Regions from separate parts of the Homo sapiens genome. Here regions 2, 3, 4, 5, 6 and 7 are each linked to region 1. Evidence: promoter capture Hi-C in 16 types of primary human blood cells and fetal thymus (Javierre and others, 2016). All regions are on one chromosome and are shown on one strand. The core of a region is centred on a gene start or on the middle of the fragment in contact, and the rest is flanking DNA. Distances in the headings are between cores, read along the strand shown. Region 1 holds the start of UBE3A (ubiquitin protein ligase E3A). Region 2 holds the start of ATP10A (ATPase phospholipid transporting 10A (putative)). Region 3 overlaps ATP10A (ATPase phospholipid transporting 10A (putative)). Region 4 overlaps LINC02346 (long intergenic non-protein coding RNA 2346). Region 5 overlaps SNRPN (small nuclear ribonucleoprotein polypeptide N). Region 6 overlaps SNHG14 (small nucleolar RNA host gene 14). Region 7 overlaps SNHG14 (small nucleolar RNA host gene 14).

Region 1 (2,700 bases), core at 152-2,651:
TAATGAGAGGAAATGAAAAGTGAGTAAAGAGCTGAGTTAAAACATCTTAAAATCGAATATGGCTTAATACTATCATTATCATCAGTTGTCCTGGAATAACTTAAATTCTTCTAGCTTATTGTTGGTTTTTCAATGGTTGGTTATAGTTGTGAGGCGGATACACACACACACCCACACACTTGGCTATACAAAAAAGATGTTCCGAGACTGACAGTTAAAAATTACACTGCTGGCCGAGCACTGTGGCTCATGCCTGTAGTCCCAAAACTTTGGGAGGCCGAGGTGGGAGGATCACTTGAGGCCAGGAGCTCGAGACCAGCCTGGGCCTAACATAGCAAGACACCATTTCTAAGTTTAAAAATAAAAATAAATTTAAAAAAGATACACTGCTATGTACGACTGTTGATATAAAAAATCTGAATACTAGACATGGGTACTCATCTAGTACTTCAAGGGCTTATCAACAAAGTTGCAAGTTGTAACACTATGAATTGTTAGTGATACTCTTTTGGCTTTGCTAGCAAGTGTTGTAAAGCTATACACACACACACACACACACACACACATACACACACACACCTTTTAAAATGGTGACCCTGGTACCAAATATGACTTTAAATGGATTTAATTTTAATGGCTTTAACTACGTTCAGCTGTCATATGGATCAAAATTAGCCTCTATCCAGCTGGGGTCAACCAGGGAGCCACTTTTCTTAACCGACGACCTACTGAACGTCAACAACTGCAGGAGACGGGACTTTACCTTCGTCTCTGGTAAACTAGTTGACACATCCTGTGTTGGCAAGAGGCCTAAGTAGATGACCTTGGTCCTCTAAAATCTGGCCTGCACTCTCGGGGCACCCCTGCAACATCTACAAAGGCAGCTCCAGATAGAAAAGGGTTGGGGTCGAAAAGCCAATAACGGCAGGCACCTGCCCCGCCTCGGGGCTGGGGGGCTATTCCAGCGGCTTCAGCTAACTTTCAGAGCCATTCGTTTCCCAACAAAGTCTGAGGCGTTCCTCTGCTGGGTACACCAAGGGGCTCTGCAACCCTCCTGGGGGGGGGGGTGCCCAGAGGGCTTCCGGAAGTCCCAGGTTTATTCTTTCGGGTCACAGACAGCAGAAACTAAAAAGAGGGATTACCCTTTCTGTCCAGTCGCAAGATGGCGACCGAGCCTGGTGGGACTCCGAGGGGCCGCAGGCCACCTCCTCTTCCCAATGGCCCGTGCGCCGGCGGCGACGGCAAGCGGGAGGGAGGCGGGGCCGGCGAAGGAAGGAGGGGCGGAGCGCGGCGCCCTCCCGCGCGTCTTGGCCCCGCCCCACGTCCCCGCGTCCCGGCCTGGAGCCCTCGCCCGGCCGGGCGGCGCGCGCTGCCTGCCGGGATACTCGGCCCGCCCAGCCAGTCCTCCCGTCTTGCGCCGCGGCCGCGAGATCCGTGTGTCTCCCAAGATGGTGGCGCTGGGCTCGGGGTGACTACAGGAGACGACGGGGCCTTTTCCCTTCGCCAGGACCCGACACACCAGGCTTCGCTCGCTCGCGCACCCCTCCGCCGCGTAGCCATCCGCCAGCGCGGGCGCCCGCCATCCGCCGCCTACTTACGCTTCACCTCTGCCGACCCGGCGCGCTCGGCTGCGGGCGGCGGCGCCTCCTTCGGCTCCTCCTCGGAATAGCTCGCGGCCTGTAGCCCCTGGCAGGAGGGCCCCTCAGCCCCCCGGTGTGGACAGGCAGCGGCGGCTGGCGACGAACGCCGGGATTTCGGCGGCCCCGGCGCTCCCTTTCCCGGCCTCGTTTTCCGGATAAGGAAGCGCGGGTCCCGCATGAGCCCCGGCGGTGGCGGCAGCGAAAGAGAACGAGGCGGTGGCGGGCGGAGGCGGCGGGCGAGGGCGACTACGACCAGTGAGGCGGCCGCCGCAGCCCAGGCGCGGGGGCGACGACAGGTCAGTGTTGCCGCGGCCTGCGCCAGGCGGCGCTGGCTCCCCTCCGTCACTCGGCCGGCCTTCGGGGCCCGCTGTGGCGAGGTCGACACCCCCCTTCCCCGCCCCCCGCCGCCGAGGCGAGTGTTTGGGGGCGCGTGGTCCGAAGGGGCTGGTGCCAGAAGTAGGCCCCTGGTGGCCGCGGCTGCTGCAGCCGTAACTGTCAGTCCTGGCTGAGCGACGGCGGGAGGGTTTTGTCGCCCGAGGGGACGCGAGCGGGCCCGGGGCGGGGCGGGACGTGCGAGGCGTCGAGATTTGGGCCTCCTAGGAGCCAGGCTCTTCGAGCCAGCCGGGGCCCCAGACAGGGAAGGGCAGGCCCTTTCCTTCAAAGGGGAGCCCTTTCTCGGCGTTTTCAAGGTTTTTGGCTCTCTTGGGGAAGACATATTTAGCCGTGTGCTTGGTGGGTTGGGGTTTTGGGGGTGGATTGATGGGAAGGGAGGGCGGATGAAGTGGTATGTCAAGCCCAAGGGTTGTGCGCACAGGTTACTCTGTGTTACCGGCCACCAGGATTTCTGAAGTTGAACGTGAGTTATTGGCTTTGCCAGAGACTGCTGTGTTATATGCAGACCTGTATGCAAGCAGTTGGCCTTTTTTCCCCCCCCTTTTCAGTGTAGAAAATGAAAAGGATGCTTTCCTCATCTTGGTGGTAAAGGCTTTTGTTGGTAAAGGTAGAATTGAATGTACCAAATGCCTTAGTCCGTAAAATTTTAGAAATAATTTTAATACAG
Region 2 (2,700 bases), core at 99-2,598, 420 kb before region 1:
TGGGCCTCTACATGTCAAAAGCCCACCCCTGTGACTGGGGGATGGGATTATTTTCTTCACACCTGTCACCACTCTACCTTCTAACACTGGGTTCTGGGCAACATTGTGGATGGTGGCAAAACTGGGCAGAGATGTAAGAATGTCATAACTGGAGCCGGGTAAGCCAGGGTGCTGGAGGGGAGGGCCTCCCCAAGCCAGGGTCCTGGCGAAGACGTGATTTGAGTCCATCCAGGGCAGTGCCTTGTTAGCAGGCACCCCCAGGAAGAGCCTGGGGCCACGGCCAACCGCCCAGCCACGGCCTCCTGGGCAAGAAATAACTGCTTCTCATCTCTGTACTTCTTGAGTGGGAGGCAAACAGTCACAGCCATGAAACATCTGTGGGGTCTCACTGCGGACGTGGGGGACTCCCAGCTCCTTTTTCCATGCCGTGCTTATTCTCCCACCCCTTCTCGGATGCCCCATGATGTGGAGGGGAGCCCTTCGCCCCACACTTCTGGGACACCCTCCTGACGCTCCCCTCTCCTCCCCACAACCATCCTCGCCTCCCCACAACCATCCTCGCCTCCCCCGCCGTCCGGGCCATGACAGCCACCTCAGAGCTACAGCGCACAAGGAGCGTTTCGGTCCTCATGATTTCCCAGGGAGGGAAACAGACACTCAAATACCTGCAAACCAAATTCTGTCTTTGCTATAGCGATATATTTCTCCTTTCCATGAAGAAAGAACAGAAAAAAGAAAAAGAATTTATTTAGGAGAGGAAGGAAAGGCAGTAATGATGATGGTGGAAAGGAAACGGTCTAGTTCGCCCAACAACGGAATCTGAAAGTGGTGGGGGCTGGGAAGTGGGGTAGGAAAGAAGTTCTTAGAGGCAACGCGGAATCGCCCTTCCCAGGGCTCCCCAGGAGCAGAGGTCCTGCGTAAAAAAGACTTAAAAATTGGAGCACTGGATGCCATGGATCCTTTGGATTTTGATTCCAGTTGATCCCTGGAGTAAGGTCCTAACCGGGGTCTCCCGAGGTCGTTTCGCCGTCCAGGATGGAGCAGGTCTGGCCCCTGGAAGGGCGCGCGGGCTGCTTGGGGACGGGGGCGCCTTTTCTCGCGCTTCGCGGTTTCCTCTCTCCTACTGCAGGCAGCGCGCGTTTGCAGCGTTTTGGGACCGAACTGATGCTTCTGGGAAACGAAACTAAACCTCTCTGAAGTTTCCAGCTCGGGCTTTTTTTGTTTCCCGCTATCCGGCGTGGCCCAGTCCGGGCGCGGAACGAGGGCGGGGCCGTGGCCACCGCGGCGGAAACGACCCGGGCCGGGGGCGGGCGGCGAGGACAAGGGGGCTCTGTGCGGCACCCGCCCAGCTTGCGCCCTGGGGACTGCGGCCGGGCGGCGGGGCTGGACGGGAGTGGACGGGGCTGGGCGCGGGCTGGGCGCGCTGGGCCGGCCAGGCGGCGCGCTGACCGCGGTCTCCGTGCGTCCCGCAGGCGGGGAGCTCGCACCGCCGCGCCCGGGCCGCGAGTGATGATAACCTAAGAGGCCGGCGCGGGCGGGCGTGAGCGGCGGAGGAGCCGGGCGCGGCGACACGCGGCCATGGAGCGGGAGCCGGCGGGGACCGAGGAGCCCGGGCCTCCGGGACGGCGGAGGCGCCGAGAGGGCAGGACGCGCACGGTGCGCTCCAACCTGCTGCCGCCCCCGGGCGCCGAGGACCCTGCGGCTGGCGCGGCCAAGGGCGAGCGGCGACGGCGGCGCGGGTGTGCCCAGCACCTGGCCGACAACCGGCTCAAGACTACCAAGTACACGCTGCTGTCCTTCCTGCCCAAGAACCTGTTCGAGCAGTTCCACCGCCCGGCCAACGTGTACTTTGTCTTCATCGCGCTGCTCAACTTCGTGCCGGCGGTGAACGCCTTCCAGCCCGGCCTGGCACTGGCGCCGGTGCTCTTCATCCTGGCCATCACGGCCTTCAGGGACCTGTGGGAGGACTACAGCCGCCACCGCTCCGACCACAAGATCAACCACCTGGGCTGCCTGGTCTTCAGCAGGTGAGTTGGGCGGGCGGGCGAGCGAGCGCGCGGTGGCGCAGGGCAGGGCGCCCCGGGAACTTGGTGTTGGGCACAGTGATTGGCAGGGGCTGGGTGCTTAGAAGGCAGCTCCACTCAGGGTGGAGGGCCCGGCTGCGCGGGACCCGGTGCCGACCGAAGCCACAGCGCCGCCAAGGCCTCTCTGTGCCTCCGCCGCAGCTAAAGGGGCGCCCTGGATGCGGGGACGCGTGGGGATCCCCTGTCACTCCGTGTCGGGGCCAGAATGATCCCAAGGCTAGAAACCGACGGCCGCTGGACATCCTCATCCACAGCCGCTCCCACCTGAAGTGAAAGGCAGGAAAAGCCAGCCTGGCCCCCTGGCCTGAAGTCCCTGCCTCAGTCTTCGGCCAGGCACAGTGGTCTCTGAACAGCCGGCACAGGACAGTAAAGCTCAGTCTGCTAACAGCTCGGCTCAGGACAGCAGCAAAGTGAAACTGCCGCCAAGTGCTGATATGTCTGGCACGGCCCAGGTACCAGGGCAGGGGAAATAACAGCAGTGTCCATCCTCCACTGTGAGCCATGAGCCGCGAGCCAGGCACCGCCCGGTAGCTGCCTGCCTAATTTTCTTCATCTTAACCTGCTTCCTGGGGGAAAGAGGCTGTGGGGTGTTTGTGAGCCCTGCCACGGGCAGTAC
Region 3 (2,830 bases), core at 133-2,632, 400 kb before region 1:
GCGTAGATTCATTTTTCCCTGCTCCTCCCCGTGATTACAAGTAAATAATTTAACAAGAAACAGTAAAAGGACGCTGGAAACTAAAAGCAGGCAGACTGACTGGGGCCTCAGGACATGAGGGGGTAGCAACACCATGAGACCCTGGACTTCTGTTTTATCTCCTGTATCCTTCCAGTGTGGGCACAGGAAGGCCTGTAACCAGAACCGCCAACAGGTATAGAGAAAACAAAATAAAGCAAAACCAAAAGGCTCTGTCAGGCCAAAGGGGAAGCTCAGTGAGACCTAGTGGGAGCCCAAGGCCCGCTCCACACCCAAGCCACCAGTGGACAGCCTGATGCTGCTGTGTGGACCACTCCCTATCCGGTGGCTCCAGGAGACCCAGACCCAGGGGCTTTTGCCCATCCACCCACACAACAGCAACAGGTGGCCCAGGGAACTGCCTTCCACTCCTTTATACAGAGCATTTACAAAAAACCTACAACCAATTTCACAGTTGAGGATGAAAGACTGATTCTACAAAACCCAAAACAAAACCTCTTACAACTGAAAAATGAGCTCATTACAATGACAGGATACAAGATCCGTGGCTATGAATTGACTGCATTTCTGTATCCCCACAATGGACTAGTGAAAACTGAAATCACAAACATAATACCATTTACAGTTGCACCAAGAAAATAAAATACTTACATATAAGTTTCACAATGCTCATACAGGATGCAGGATGAACATTACAAAATGCTGATGAAAAATATCAAGGAACATCTGAATAAATGGAGAGACTTCCCATGTTCATGGATCGGAAAATGAACATAATAGTGAGTCAGTTTTCTCTATAATTATCTATAGATTTAACGTAACTCCTATCAAAACCTCAGCAATGTTTTTTTTTTTTGTAGACATACACAAGCTTATTCTACGTGGAAAAACACAGGTCCAAAAATGTCCACAAGATTTCTCAAAAAGAATAATAAAGTGGAAGCACTCACTTCTCCCAATATTAATGCTTACTGTGGAGCTGCAAAGTGTGGTATCAGCAAAGGGATGGCACATATGTAATGAACCAGAGTGAAGAACCCAGAAATAAGTCCCAACAGATATGCCCAATTAGTTTTTGACAATCAGTTCAGTGGAGGAAGTATATAGTTTTCCAATAAACGGTGTGGGAGCAATTAGACATCCATTAGAAAAAAAAAAAAACCCTAAACCTCACATACCTCATATAAAAATTAACTTGTTAAAGATTATAGATTTAAATGTAAAACGATAAAACTTCTAAAAGAAAACATAAAACATTTTTGGGATCTAAGACTAGACAAAGAATTCATAGACTTGACACCAAAAGCATTATCCTTTGCTGTGGGAAAGATCCAATGAAAAAGAGCAGAGAAATTCCAGACGAGAGAGAATATTTGCAAATCACATACCCAACAAAGCACTAATATCTAGAATACGTAAAGAACTCTCAAAATTGAACATTAACAAAACAATGAATCCTGTTTAAAAATGGGCAAGACATGAGACATTCACTGAAGAAGGTATGCAGATGGCAAGTAAGCACATGAAAAGATGTTCAACATCTTTACAAAACAGGGAAATGCAAATTAAAGCCACTCAGAGATACCACTGCGCATCTATCAGAATGGCACAAATAAAAAGAGTGATACCACCAAACGCTGCTGAGGGTGTGAGAAATGGGATCTCTCCTACGTTGCTGTGGGAATGTAAAACATACCCACTCTGGAAAATAGTCCCTTCACAAAACTAAAAATAGAATTGTCATATAATCCACCAGTTGCACTCCTGGGCATTTACCCCAGATAAATGAGAACTTACATTCACAGAGAAGCTTTGCAGAAATGTTCATCGCAGCATTTTTTTTTAAATAATAACCCAACACTGGAAATAACCTAGATGTTCCTCAAAAGGTAAGTGGTTAAAGAAACTGTGATCCCTCCATACGGTGGAATACTAGTCAGTAGTAAAAAGGAACAGACTGTTGATAAACACAGCAACTTGCATGGGCCTCAGGGAGATTTTGGTGAATGGAAAAAGCCTGGGAGCTAAATGATGAGAATTATGAACAGAAAGAAGGGAACAACAGACACTGGAGTCTACCTGAGGGTGGAGGGTGAGAGGAGAAAGAGAAGCAGAAAAGATAACTGTTGGGTACTAGGCTTAATACCTGGGTGATGAAATAATCTGTACACAAACCCCTATAACGTGAGTTTACCAATGTAACAAACCTTCACATGTGCATAGGTTTGTTACCTGTGTAACAAACCCCCAAACCTAAAATAAAAGTTAGGAAAACCTAATTTCAAAAGGATATATGCTGCGTGATCCCATTTATAGAACATTTGTGAAATAACATTCTTAGGGGGATGAGGGACAAGTTAGTGTTTGCCAGGGGTTAGGGATGCAGGAGGGGGTGAACGTGGCCCCAGAGAGGTAGCATGAGGGGTCTTGTCCCATTGGCGCCATCTTGATTGTGTGTGGGTACTATTTCGGTTGTGGTTGAGAAACTGCACAGATGCACATGCGCACACACACGCACACGAATGCACTTAAAGCTAGAGAAATCTGAATAAGCTTTGTCGGCTGTACCAATGCCAATTTCCCGGTTTTGATTTTGTCCTCTGGTTTTGGGGCATGGTGGCCTTAGGGGAGGCTGGGTGAAGGGTGCATGGGACCTCCCTGTACATTTCTTTGCAACTTCCTATGAATCTGTAATTATTCCGAAATAAAAAGCTTAAAATATGACCATTGAGTTATTAATGGTAAGGAGTCAGCATAAGAAGAAGACATGGAAATTTGGTGTGCCCAGTAC
Region 4 (2,700 bases), core at 8-2,507, 500 kb before region 1:
TCCCACGATCTCTGCATCATCCCAAAGAGAAACACACTTGACAGGACACCCTACCATCAAATCAAGCTTGTGTTTTTCAGATATTTTTGACCAACACCTACATCATAGGAAATATACTTAAAATTGTAACCCAATACATGTGCGCATGCATACACACACACACAGACCACGCACTTGAAGCTAAAGTTTCACAAAAAATACCTGATATGATGTGCTATAGGCCGAATTATGTCCCTCCTGCAAAATTCATATGTTGAAGCCCCGACCCCCAGGACCTCAGCATGTTCCCTCATTTGGAGAGGGGGGTCTTCATAGAGGTAAGTTGAAATGAACTCATATGGGTGGGCCTTAATCCGGTAGGACTGGTGTCTTTATAAGAAGTGGAGATGAGGACAGACAGATGCAGGGGAATGACCATCAGAGGACACAGGGGGAAGGCATCTTGCTGTCTACAAGCCAGGGAGAAGGCCTCGGAAGGAACCAACCCTGCAGGCACCTTGATGTTGAATCTACAGGCTTCAGAACAGTGAGACAATCCATTTCTGTTGTGTAAGCCCTCCAGTCTATGGGACTTTGTTACAGCAGCCCTAGCAAACCTAATGCATGGTGCATTCCAATAGTTTCTACTCTATTCCTTTTGTTTCTTCTTTAATGCTGTTTGAAACAAAATCGATTCTAGGATCACAAATAGACCACACATGCAGGTTGAAGAACTGAGAGCAGTCTAAGATCCATTTTCTACACCAGTAATTGAACACGTGTTACTAATAGCTTCAGAAATGAAAAAGTCTATATACGTATATATATCCAAAACAGAGAATCACCTTGAGGGAGGGAGTCTAAATATAATGGCTTTAACAGAGGAAATGAATTTCTCCAATCATCCCTGACACAAACATAATGAATGATACCTTCCAACGCTCTTTGAAAAAGTAAATGAACTCGAGTTTAAGGAGAGTAAAGCAATTTTTCCAGCTCTTTCTGAAGCAATGATCAAGAAAGGTCTTGGTATTTCCATGTCACGCTGCAGAGAAGAAAGCCAGGAGTCAGCCAGGATCGAGCCACTAGGCTTGTGCTGTCCATTCTGAAAATTTTGGGAAAGAAGAGTGGGTACCTCTGGGGCTGGGAGAAATCTCTTCTCTACCAGAAAGGCAAGAAATTATGCCAAGCGGGGTGTGGTGGCTCATGCTTGTAATACTAAAACTCTGGGAGGCTGAGGTGGGAGGATTGCTTGAGCTCAGGAGTTTATCAGCCTGGGCAACATAGTAAAAACCTGTCTCTACAATTTTTTTTTTTAGTTAGCCAGGCTTGGTAGTGTGTGCCTGTGATCCCAGCTACTCAGGGGGCTGAGGTGGGAGGATTGCCAGGAAGTCAAGGCTGCAGTGAGCTGTGATTGTGCCTCGGCACTCCAGCCTGGGTGACAGAGTGACAAATTGTACCCAAATCACGTGAAAACTTACAGTATTTCTAAGAGTAGAGTATTGGCAAAATGACACAGTCCTGCTTCCAGGAATGCTAGAAAACCATGATCTTGGAGTAAATATCATCGTCATCCTCCGCATCACATACTGCATGTAATGGGAGGGATTAGAATAGTCATGAGAATATGTGTCTGGAATTTCACAGCTTAGTAAACACGTCCCACAGATAGTATGTTGAAGCCTATTGGCTCTTTCATGAGTCGGGTGTTGGTGCACAGAGGGTCCAGGCCTGGAGAATGGGGAGCGGGCCCCATGCTCTGGAGCCAGGTGGGTGTGAGGGCCTGGGCCACATGGTGGGTGCACCCTATCCTAGCCCAAACCCGCGGTGAGCCTCTACTTCCTGGGGCTCACTTTGTACTGAGGGCAAGATAACATTGCTTCAAGCTGCAGTGAGAAGTAAATATATTAGTCCTGGGAAGCACTTAGAATGGTGCACAGCCCCCACCCCCACCCCATCTAACCCCCACTGCCCCTGTCCCTCCTTCCGCCCCACCCCACTGTTTCTGTCCCGGGGTGTCAGTCTTTATTATTTGAACACGAAACACCCAAGGCCCTTGTGAAAATGCAGGTTCTGTTTCAGCGCCTGGGGTGAGGCCTGAGATTGCACTTTCTTAACCAGCTCCCAGGTGATGCTAAGGACACTGGCCTGTGGGCCTTGTTTTGGGTAGCAAGTATCTAGAACATGCAACAGAAACTGCTTGTTCCTCAGAGACAGAAGAGGTTGAGTATGGTTAACCATTTTTACATATGTGTTTTTTTAAAAAACACGCTTGGATGCCACCGTGCAGGAAGTACAAACCAAGGGCTGGGTCAAACCTCCTGGCCAGGCAGCTTGGACAGAAACATAATGAGAAGCATCTGGGCTTCATGCAGCTGTGACTGAGGGGACTCTCTGAGCCCTCACTTCCAGGGCTGCAGGTCATGCACCCAGCCCAACCGCAGCTTCTGCTCAGCTGGTGAAGCTTACAGGCTGTGAAAGTTAGTGAAATGCTTTGTGTTCAATCGCCTGGGGTAGGCTTCAGGTATCCAAACTGGGGTCGGGGGGGGGGGGCGGCGGGGGGGCAGGGCTAAGGCTGGAGCAGAGGCAGCTTTGCCATGGAAGCTGAGGGACCCCCTACTTTGGGATGCCCTACGGCTCTTGCACCTGGGTCCTTACTGGCATTTTTTCCAAAAACCAACCACATTTCAGAAAGCATCACAAATACCCACCCCTAGCTCT
Region 5 (2,703 bases), core at 127-2,626, 470 kb after region 1:
GCAATATCCATTTTTATAGCACTGCAACACTTGGGACCTTCAGCCATCCAAAGAGACAACAAGGATCATGACTGTGAATGAGCAAGACAGATCTTACTGTGGTGATGAAAATGTTTCCAGAGTAGTTCATGGCAATGATTGCACAGTTCTGTAAATTTACTTAAATCATTGCTTCATGCACTTAAATTGGGTGAATTTTATGTTTATCAGCACTACATCACTAAAGCCGTTTTTAACCCATTTATGCCAGAGGTTGGAATTTTTTTGTGAAAAATCAGACCTTGGCAATGACCTTGAGCAATAGGATATAAATAACTCCCACAAGCTTAGCGGTCCAGAGGTATGAAACACATCTAGGGATGTGAGTTATGGCCCAAAGAACTGAAGACCTAGAGAATTAGGGACAGATTATTATTTTATATTTATATATATATCATAATATAATAATAACCTGTATAGCTAGAAGAGATATATGTTTTACTCACAATAGGAGTTGACCTCCTACAGCAGTTAAAAGGATTCCCTTAAGAGACAGATTTGGAATTTAGAAACAGTTCTCTCTCATCCCTAAATGTGATACAATGTAGTCATGACCTTGTAAGTGAAAGAAGAAAATAAATCACTGCAGAGTGGTCAAATTTATCTTTACAGCACAAGAAAACAAAACTTCATGAGAAAGGCGACGAGAGTAGCAACATCACACTGCAAGGATGGATGAGCAGTCATAGTGTATCTTCTGAGATCAAAGGGCACATAAGCAAATTAACGAACTGGTATCCCTCACAGAAGCACAAGTTTTCAAACTTTAGGAAACTGTAGACTTTCAAATGATTAAACTACATAAAAATGTAAATCTACTTTAATTCAAAAGTAAAATAAGATGACTAGGGTTGGCCAAAGCACACATAGCAAATAGTAAAATAAGATGACTAGGGTTGGCCAAGGCACACATAGCAAATGAGACACACCATGGAATATCAGTATTGATCTGTTAAAATTTAAAATTATAGAGGGTCTCCATAGAGATCCTCCATCGAAGAGTATGCAAAAACAAGTGACAAAAGAAAACTAAATGCAAAATATTAATACACAATAATTCCAATTAAAAACACAAGAAAACAAATTTCCTTTATTGGAAAGGTTTATTTAACAAAAACAAAAAAACACCAGAATACAAAGGGTGGTACTGAGAAACTAATGGTCTACTAATTTTTAGTGGCCATCAGCACTTCTCATGATGTGTTTAGAAAACAATGTAACAAAAACGTTTAAAAGTCATACTAATATTACACCCTGCATCCCAACTACTAGGTAGGTATCCAGTTGGATATGTACCCTGGTAAATATTTAGGTACCAAAGAAAAACAGAATATTCATAACACAATTTTTTTTTGAGATAGAAGTCTTGCTCTGTCACGCAGGCTGAAGCGCAGTGGCACAATCTCTGCTCAATGCAACCTCTGCCCCTAGGGTTCAAGAAATTCTCCTGCCTCAGCCTCCCGAGTAGCTGGGATTACAGGTGTCCCCCACTACACCCGGCTAATATTTGTATTTTTAGAACAGATGGGGTTTCGCCATGTGGCCAGGTTGGTCTCGAACTTCTGACCTCAGGTGATCCACCTGCCTCAGCCTCCCCAAGTGCTAGGATGACAGGCGTGAGCCACCACACCCGGCCACATTAATAGTTTATTTTCTTATTTTTCCTGGCCATCGTGTGCCTTACATTTTTAATGAAAACGGGTACGAAGTGTTTAAATGTTGTTAAAGACTACCCATCTTCCTCCACAGCAGACTTTAACATGACTCTTAGACTGATCCCTTCCCCAAGAAATTCATCTGATTGTCTACGCTGTAATGTATACTTCGTATATACTTCTATAATCTATTCTTTATCACCTTCTATGACATTATGACTATATTGACTGGCCCCCACTTTGGTGTTTTCTTCTTTCAATCTGCTCCTCTAAAATAAAACTCAGCCAATTATTTTCTTTTAAATAGCAAGATACTAAGTATTTTAGGCTTTGCCTGTCATTCAATCTGTCACAACTACTCAAAGCTGCACCACCGTAGCACCAATGTGGCCAAAGATAACATAATAAATGAACTGAGTTGTGTTCCAATAAAATTTCATTTATAGACACAGGTAGTGGTCCAGATATATTACCAACCCTTCTTCTACAGGAATACTAGTAATGGGTACTATTTAGGTAGAACTAGCAGTTGAGACTAGAATAAGATATAATTAAGTATCATAAAATTAGATGGTCCTACTTGCAGACTATAATGTATGACTTAAATGTTGTATTTAAAAATTTACAAAAATCTGTGAACTGAACTGAGAAGCTAAAAAATTCCTAAAAAGTAAAAAATCAGTTGTGCACACCTATTCAATGAAAAATTCCCTTACTCAAGGGAAAAGCTTTGGACAATGATTAGATTCCAATTTGCTTATGCAATTGCTAGAAAATGTTGTGTATAAAGGATTCAAGAAAGGAGGATTTCTCAGAAAATTTCTGTCTCCTTTGATTTAAACTCAAAATGGGCCGGGCGCGGTAGGTCACGCCTGTAATCCCAGCACTTTGAGAGGCCAAGGCAGGTGGATCACCTGAGTTCAGGAGTTTGAGACCAGCCTGGAGAACATGGTGAAACCCCGTCTCTACCAAAAATACAAAAATTAGCCAGGTGTGGTGGTGGGTGCCT
Region 6 (2,700 bases), core at 55-2,554, 450 kb after region 1:
GACAGAAATTGTATATTAAAATATTTTTGTAATATTTATCTTCTAGATACAATTATATATTCTGCATCAACCAAATAAATCCCATTTAAACATGGCATAGCAATTCTACTGATCAAACTAAAGTGTTTATGCCCTTGTCTAGTGGTTTACTGGTCACAATATACGCCTATTAGTAATCTGTATGCAGATGCTAAAAAGCAAAAGGTAACATTTTTCTACTATACATTTAGCAGCCATACAGTATCTCTGGCAACTTAAGAATATTTCTATCCTATGACAATAAATGTTGTTTATACAGTGATATGTATTTATATATAAACCTGCATACACACAAATATACGTGTTGGCAATTCCTACAAATCAAAGACTAAACAATTAAAGCAAAACAATTATATATTGTGACTGTCTTATACACATGTAACAAAATTCCCCTTCAGCTGCTCATTTACACACACAAATAATCTGCCTATGTGAGGGAGGAAACAAAAGCTTTCACTACATATGTATGTATTTATCTATCTATCTATATAGATAGATATATAGATATGTGTTTACGTGTGTGTATATATATTTAGAACCATGCAGACATAATAGCTCCTATGCTTTAAAAAACATATAACCATGTATATTGTATACACATAAGGGTTCCATTATCACCCAATGATCTAATGAACTCAGGTTTCACATCCCATTGCTAGTATCCCCATAAAAACTTATAAAATGCCTCTACAGATAGAAACATTTTAAATCAAAAACAACTCACTATTATGAAAGTCACATATTTTTGGCAAATGAGAACTTTTCTAACCTATGCTATTTGACTCATGTGGCAATTTTTCTGTTGTATAAAAAACTGCATATACACATCTGAAAACTATAAACAAAGGCAGACCGACATTTATGATGACATTTCCACCATGTTGCATCTATCAGAAAAACAGTCACATATATATTTATAGAGATATACAGTATTATACTACAAATTGTAAGAACATTTCTATTATATCTACCACAACCTAAAAATTAAGCCCAATGATCCAGTGAACAGTTTGCTTTTTGCAAGCAAAACTGGTTCTATCCCCTATGAATTAAAAATGACATCTATACATTTAGAAAAATAGATGTTAAAAATATTTAGCATATCCACCAGCAATCAATTAATGTTTAGGGGCAATTTAATGAATTAATGTTCTGAGAGGTGATTTAACACTCCCACTAGCAAAAGGAAAGTAGTCTACCTGTTTACAATGTAATGTTAACATATAGGTAAGACCACCACCACCATCTTCACGTGGATTTAGGTCTGGAGGCCCTGCAACATATGCTCATGTGCACACAGGGCTCCAACACCCCACCCTCTTATCTCCTAAATCCACATCTAATATTTGCCTAATACTAACAAAGCCATCTAAGAGTCTAAACACTCCTATCAGTAACCAATGACATCATTGTGTAACAATTTAATGTCCCCCAAAATGCAAAATGTCAGCCATCTCTATGCTGGTTAAGATTCAGTAACACAATCCTGTCGGTTATATACACAAAGTAATACAAATCCCACCCAACCCTTAACATGTAAGTGTTCTAGAGGCTGGCCTTTTTGGCAATTCCATCATGAAAAGAAAATCTTACACCACGTAAATTTTAACAGAAAGACCACTGACAAAATAACATCCACATCCATGACTTTCATACATAAAGCAGCATTAATAAAACTTCTTAGTTAGAAGTTGTATACATTAAGTTCCCCCAGAAAAACATCCATAGCAATATAAACCAAAATAAAAGGATTTTTAATATACATCAGAGGTACTTTAACAATTATATTTCTAAAATCATTTCTTAAAATGTTTCTACATACTTCAGCAAACTAATTGTTAGCAATATCTATGTACCAAGAAAATGTCATAAAACAATTATTTAGAAACTTCAAACACTGTATCCTCAAATGCACATAAACAAAATGCCTTTTTTTCTAATTAACGCTTCCCATGTCATTTTCTATTACCCTTATGCACTCAAAAAGTGAATACAGAATTGTGTATATCTTTAAAAGGTGACCTGAGAATTCCTTTCTAACAACTGTTCCAGAATAAAATTCTAGCAAATAGAAGCTTCCCCAGGAAACCAGTTATTTAGCCACAGCAACTACATTAACAAGCTTAACAGATTCATGTTCAAAATCTAAGTGTTTGCTTTTAACTAATTACATTCCAAGATTATGCAAAAAAATACAACTATTACACATTTAATTTCACTGTCTGGCTTACCTAAGGCACAATGAACAATTCATACACATTTATCATTCAATGTGTATCTTACATTCTCATTTCAATACTATTATCTAAACATAATTTTCCCACATATTTAAACAAACTCGTAAGCTAAATGTCCACGAAAAAAAGTTTATATTATTTGAATATTTGGAGCTCTTTCACAATGCTAGCAGGAGTTGGGGAATGATGTCCTTATTGCATGTGCACACAAGTATATCATGTGCAGGGCTTTTACTGGTAAATCTTCCAAAGGCGAGTGGACTCTCCATAGCAAGAAAAAAAATATTATTGGTTGATGAAGTTCAGGCAAGTATCAATCTATCTTTCTTTCTTCCAAGGTTTTCTAGCTGATGAGGCATGTAGCTGAATTCAACATGTTATCCTTCCCCTTCTATCCATATATTCCTGCAGGGTTGGCTTGTCA
Region 7 (2,700 bases), core at 125-2,624, 420 kb after region 1:
GATGACATTACATACTACGGTGAGAGTAGATAAGACTGGTAAATCAAAACCTGCATAAACTACATATCAAAACTGTGTCAAAATTTAGGGAGCCCTTTTATCTCTTTTATTTCACCTAACTGATAATCACTCCACAAATTCACAACTTTGTGTTTTATAGAATTCATGTATAGTTTTGGATTTTAAAATATTACAAATTAGATTCAATATCAAACTGGTCAAAAATAAACAGTACACCAGGGTTACTGATTCTTACCAGCACTTTTGAAGAATGACGTCTACAAAAATAGTAAATAAGCACAATGATTTGGATTGATATGCAAATTTCAGTCAGTGAAGAAGTTCTCACTTCTTAAACTGGTACCACCTCAGCTATAACTGTGAAAAATATGGGAAAATTGTGACATACGACCAGTTAATATACAGAAGGTGAAGTTCTCTCATTCCTCAACCTCCTAAAGTCCCCAAATTATTAAAATATTGAAAGATCATTTTAATTAAACTAACTTGTGAACCCACTGCAGTTAGTTTTTGCTTATTTGCTAACACATCATGTTGAGAATGCAAAAACAAAACTTTTATAATTTCATAATGAATCTGCCCGTGAAAATATACCATTGGCTTTCAAATGTCCATCTTTCCAGTCAACTTTACATATATGACTTTATTATTGCATCAGCCCATTCTCATAGTCATCAAATTCCTGTACCATCACCTTGTGAATCAACCCATCTATCAGTCTATTAAGCCACTCTAAAGCCACCAAACAGGCAGCTATCACTTATGCAACCAATGTACCTGAACCCTGATCCCTACATTTATCCAAGGTTTTAGATAGCCATATTTGTACTCATCAATCTAAAGATCTATCCATACAGCATTCCATTTTTGATCCATCCAATGATAACACCTAGGCATATAACCATCTGCACCTTCACTAAATGATTCCACTGTGCATATAACCATACATACACCCAACAGGTTTTTAAAACCTGCATTCTCCATTCTTGCATCCAGCCATTTGCTCATATTCTACTTTCCATCTATTTCTTACATTATTCAATACACCCAATTTTGCATGCATCCGTTATTATATTTCAAATTATATTAGACGATTATTATATTCATCTTTCTGGGCTTTAAATATCCAATCCCACATAATTTCAATGACTAGTTATTAAATCCACATTAACCATATAATACAAAGAAAATTTCAGTAACCATTCTTGCATCCTTCCATCAACTCACATGTCTGCCTGTCTACTACTACTACCAAGCTTGAAAACACCAATCCAACCCTGCCTCCTTGAACGCACCTATCCACCAATCACTGAATTATTGTGTGTAACTTTCCCTCTGTACTCAGATTGAAGTCATGGCCACTTCAAAATTTTACTGGCTGAACACATCTACTTCTTACTAATGAAAATATTCCTGTGGGTCTGTTATGATGGCTCTCAGGGAAGCTTTGCTAAATATGACAGATTACTGTGCCAAGGGCATTCACCTCTTTTGAAAATTACATATCAACACATGGTTCTACGATCACCATGGTAAGATATAAGTTAGAATCACATATAGGCCACGAAACTCCTGTGCCCATGATGCACATAACACATTTTACATTTTTAATGGGTCACTTTTACTTCCAAAGAAACTAGAAGCCCATGATTAAGACTTAAAATATGAACAAACATCCTCCACAATGCCTATTTTAAAAATAATTAAGTAGGATAAGGGGATTGGGAAAGTGTGCCAGAGGTAAAAGCTACAGCCAAGGAAAACAAGGAAAAAGTGAGCATCTTCCAGGCCCTAGTAAAACACTCTCTAGCACAGTATAGGGAGCCTTCACAGTGTATTTCCAGAGGGATTTCAAAATTTCAATGGAAAAGTGATTTCTATCACATTTGACACCTTAGAGTTTGGAGTTGTATTATAGTTGCCCTGACTCTGCTCATTGTACATTGTACAAAAGGAAATAAGGTTCAATTATTATTTTTTTGAGATGGAGTCTCACCCTATTGCCCAGACTGGAGTGCAATGGCACGATCTCAGCTCACTGCAACCTCTGCCTCCCGGGTTCAAGCGATTCTCCTGCCTCAGCGTTCTGAGTAGCTGGTATTACAGGCACACACCACCACACCAGGGTGTGGTGTATTTTTAGTAGAGACAGGGTTTCACCATGTTAGCCAGGCTGGTCTTTAACTCCTGACGGTGTGATCTGCCCGCCTCAGCTTCCCAAAGTGCTGGGATTATAGGCATGAGCCACTACATGCAGCCAAGGTACAATTATCTTTAAGTTTCACCTATCTCTGGGCCAACAGTAGGTACACTGAGACTTAAGGTACAGATTACTGTGAATTACCTCATGATAGGGAGATAGCATCACTGAGACGCTGGATTTTTACCTGGGTGAGGTTTTTATTGGTTCCCACTGTGAAGGGGATAGTTTCCATTTAAGTAGAAAGTATACCTAGTTTGTGAGACCAGAAAGGTATCCTACAGTAGACACTATCAGTGTTTAACGTGTCCTTTTCATCCTTTCCTTGAGAAAACATAAAATACAGCTTCTAAATCTCCTGAAGTTTTGGAAAACCATGTGATTTACCCAATTCCTTTACCCAATTTACCATTACGTATTTAAGAGGCAATGGATGACTTTCCATAACTCTAACAAAGCCACAGTGAAAAATAAAACCT

What was found. The method cuts DNA at HindIII sites, captures the fragments that hold promoters and counts their contacts. A CHiCAGO score of 5 or more calls a contact.
Region 2: the fragment with the promoter of ATP10A here is called in contact with the fragment with the promoter of UBE3A in region 1 in 1 of 17 cell types (naive CD4 T cells); the score reaches 6.9 in naive CD4 T cells.
Region 3: a contact is called between a fragment that was not itself captured here and the fragment with the promoter of UBE3A in region 1, in 1 of 17 cell types (total CD4 T cells). The highest score is 5.0, in total CD4 T cells.
Region 4: a contact is called between a fragment that was not itself captured here and the fragment with the promoter of UBE3A in region 1, in 2 of 17 cell types (total B cells and naive B cells). The highest score is 9.2, in total B cells.
Region 5: a contact is called between a fragment that was not itself captured here and the fragment with the promoter of UBE3A in region 1, in 8 of 17 cell types (activated CD4 T cells, total CD8 T cells, naive CD4 T cells and 5 more). The highest score is 9.0, in activated CD4 T cells.
Region 6: a contact is called between a fragment that was not itself captured here and the fragment with the promoter of UBE3A in region 1, in 6 of 17 cell types (activated CD4 T cells, total CD8 T cells, M2 macrophages and 3 more). The highest score is 7.3, in activated CD4 T cells.
Region 7: a fragment that was not itself captured here is called in contact with the fragment with the promoter of UBE3A in region 1 in 1 of 17 cell types (non-activated CD4 T cells); the score reaches 5.3 in non-activated CD4 T cells.

What each region holds. Positions count from the first base shown.
Region 1 is chr15:25,437,725-25,440,424 of GRCh38, reverse strand. It overlaps UBE3A (ubiquitin protein ligase E3A), which reads left to right and starts at 1,401. Exons shown (of 13, transcript NM_130839.5): 1 at 1,401-1,936. RefSeq lists enhancers at 394-1,339, 1,340-2,285 and silencers at 1,137-1,476, 1,837-2,256. The HindIII fragment of the contact is 4,364 bases long and covers 1-2,700 here.
Region 2 is chr15:25,861,975-25,864,674 of GRCh38, reverse strand. It overlaps ATP10A (ATPase phospholipid transporting 10A (putative)), which reads left to right and starts at 1,348. Exons shown (of 21, transcript NM_024490.4): 1 at 1,348-2,027. The coding sequence starts at 1,579. The HindIII fragment of the contact is 7,208 bases long and covers 1-2,700 here.
Region 3 is chr15:25,839,650-25,842,479 of GRCh38, reverse strand. The region is part of intron 1 of ATP10A (ATPase phospholipid transporting 10A (putative)); the gene reads left to right. Among named protein-coding and RNA genes, the nearest start is that of MIR4715, 7.8 kb to the left of the region's middle. The HindIII fragment of the contact is 939 bases long and covers 913-1,851 here.
Region 4 is chr15:25,938,873-25,941,572 of GRCh38, reverse strand. The region is part of intron 1 of LINC02346 (long intergenic non-protein coding RNA 2346); the gene reads right to left. Among named protein-coding and RNA genes, the nearest start is that of LINC02346, 38 kb to the right of the region's middle. The HindIII fragment of the contact is 2,377 bases long and covers 69-2,445 here.
Region 5 is chr15:24,969,270-24,971,972 of GRCh38, reverse strand. All of the region lies in intron 3 of SNRPN (small nuclear ribonucleoprotein polypeptide N), which reads right to left. The region is part of intron 6 of SNHG14 (small nucleolar RNA host gene 14); the gene reads right to left. It also overlaps a transcript of SNURF not described here. Among named protein-coding and RNA genes, the nearest start is that of PWARSN, 11 kb to the left of the region's middle. The HindIII fragment of the contact is 2,097 bases long and covers 328-2,424 here.
Region 6 is chr15:24,990,826-24,993,525 of GRCh38, reverse strand. The region is part of intron 15 of SNHG14 (small nucleolar RNA host gene 14); the gene reads right to left. Among named protein-coding and RNA genes, the nearest start is that of SNORD108, 5.3 kb to the right of the region's middle. The HindIII fragment of the contact is 1,625 bases long and covers 492-2,116 here.
Region 7 is chr15:25,016,705-25,019,404 of GRCh38, reverse strand. SNHG14 (small nucleolar RNA host gene 14) reads right to left here. Exons shown (of 148, transcript NR_146177.1): 21 at 257-378. Among named protein-coding and RNA genes, the nearest start is that of PWAR6, 14 kb to the left of the region's middle. The HindIII fragment of the contact is 189 bases long and covers 1,280-1,468 here.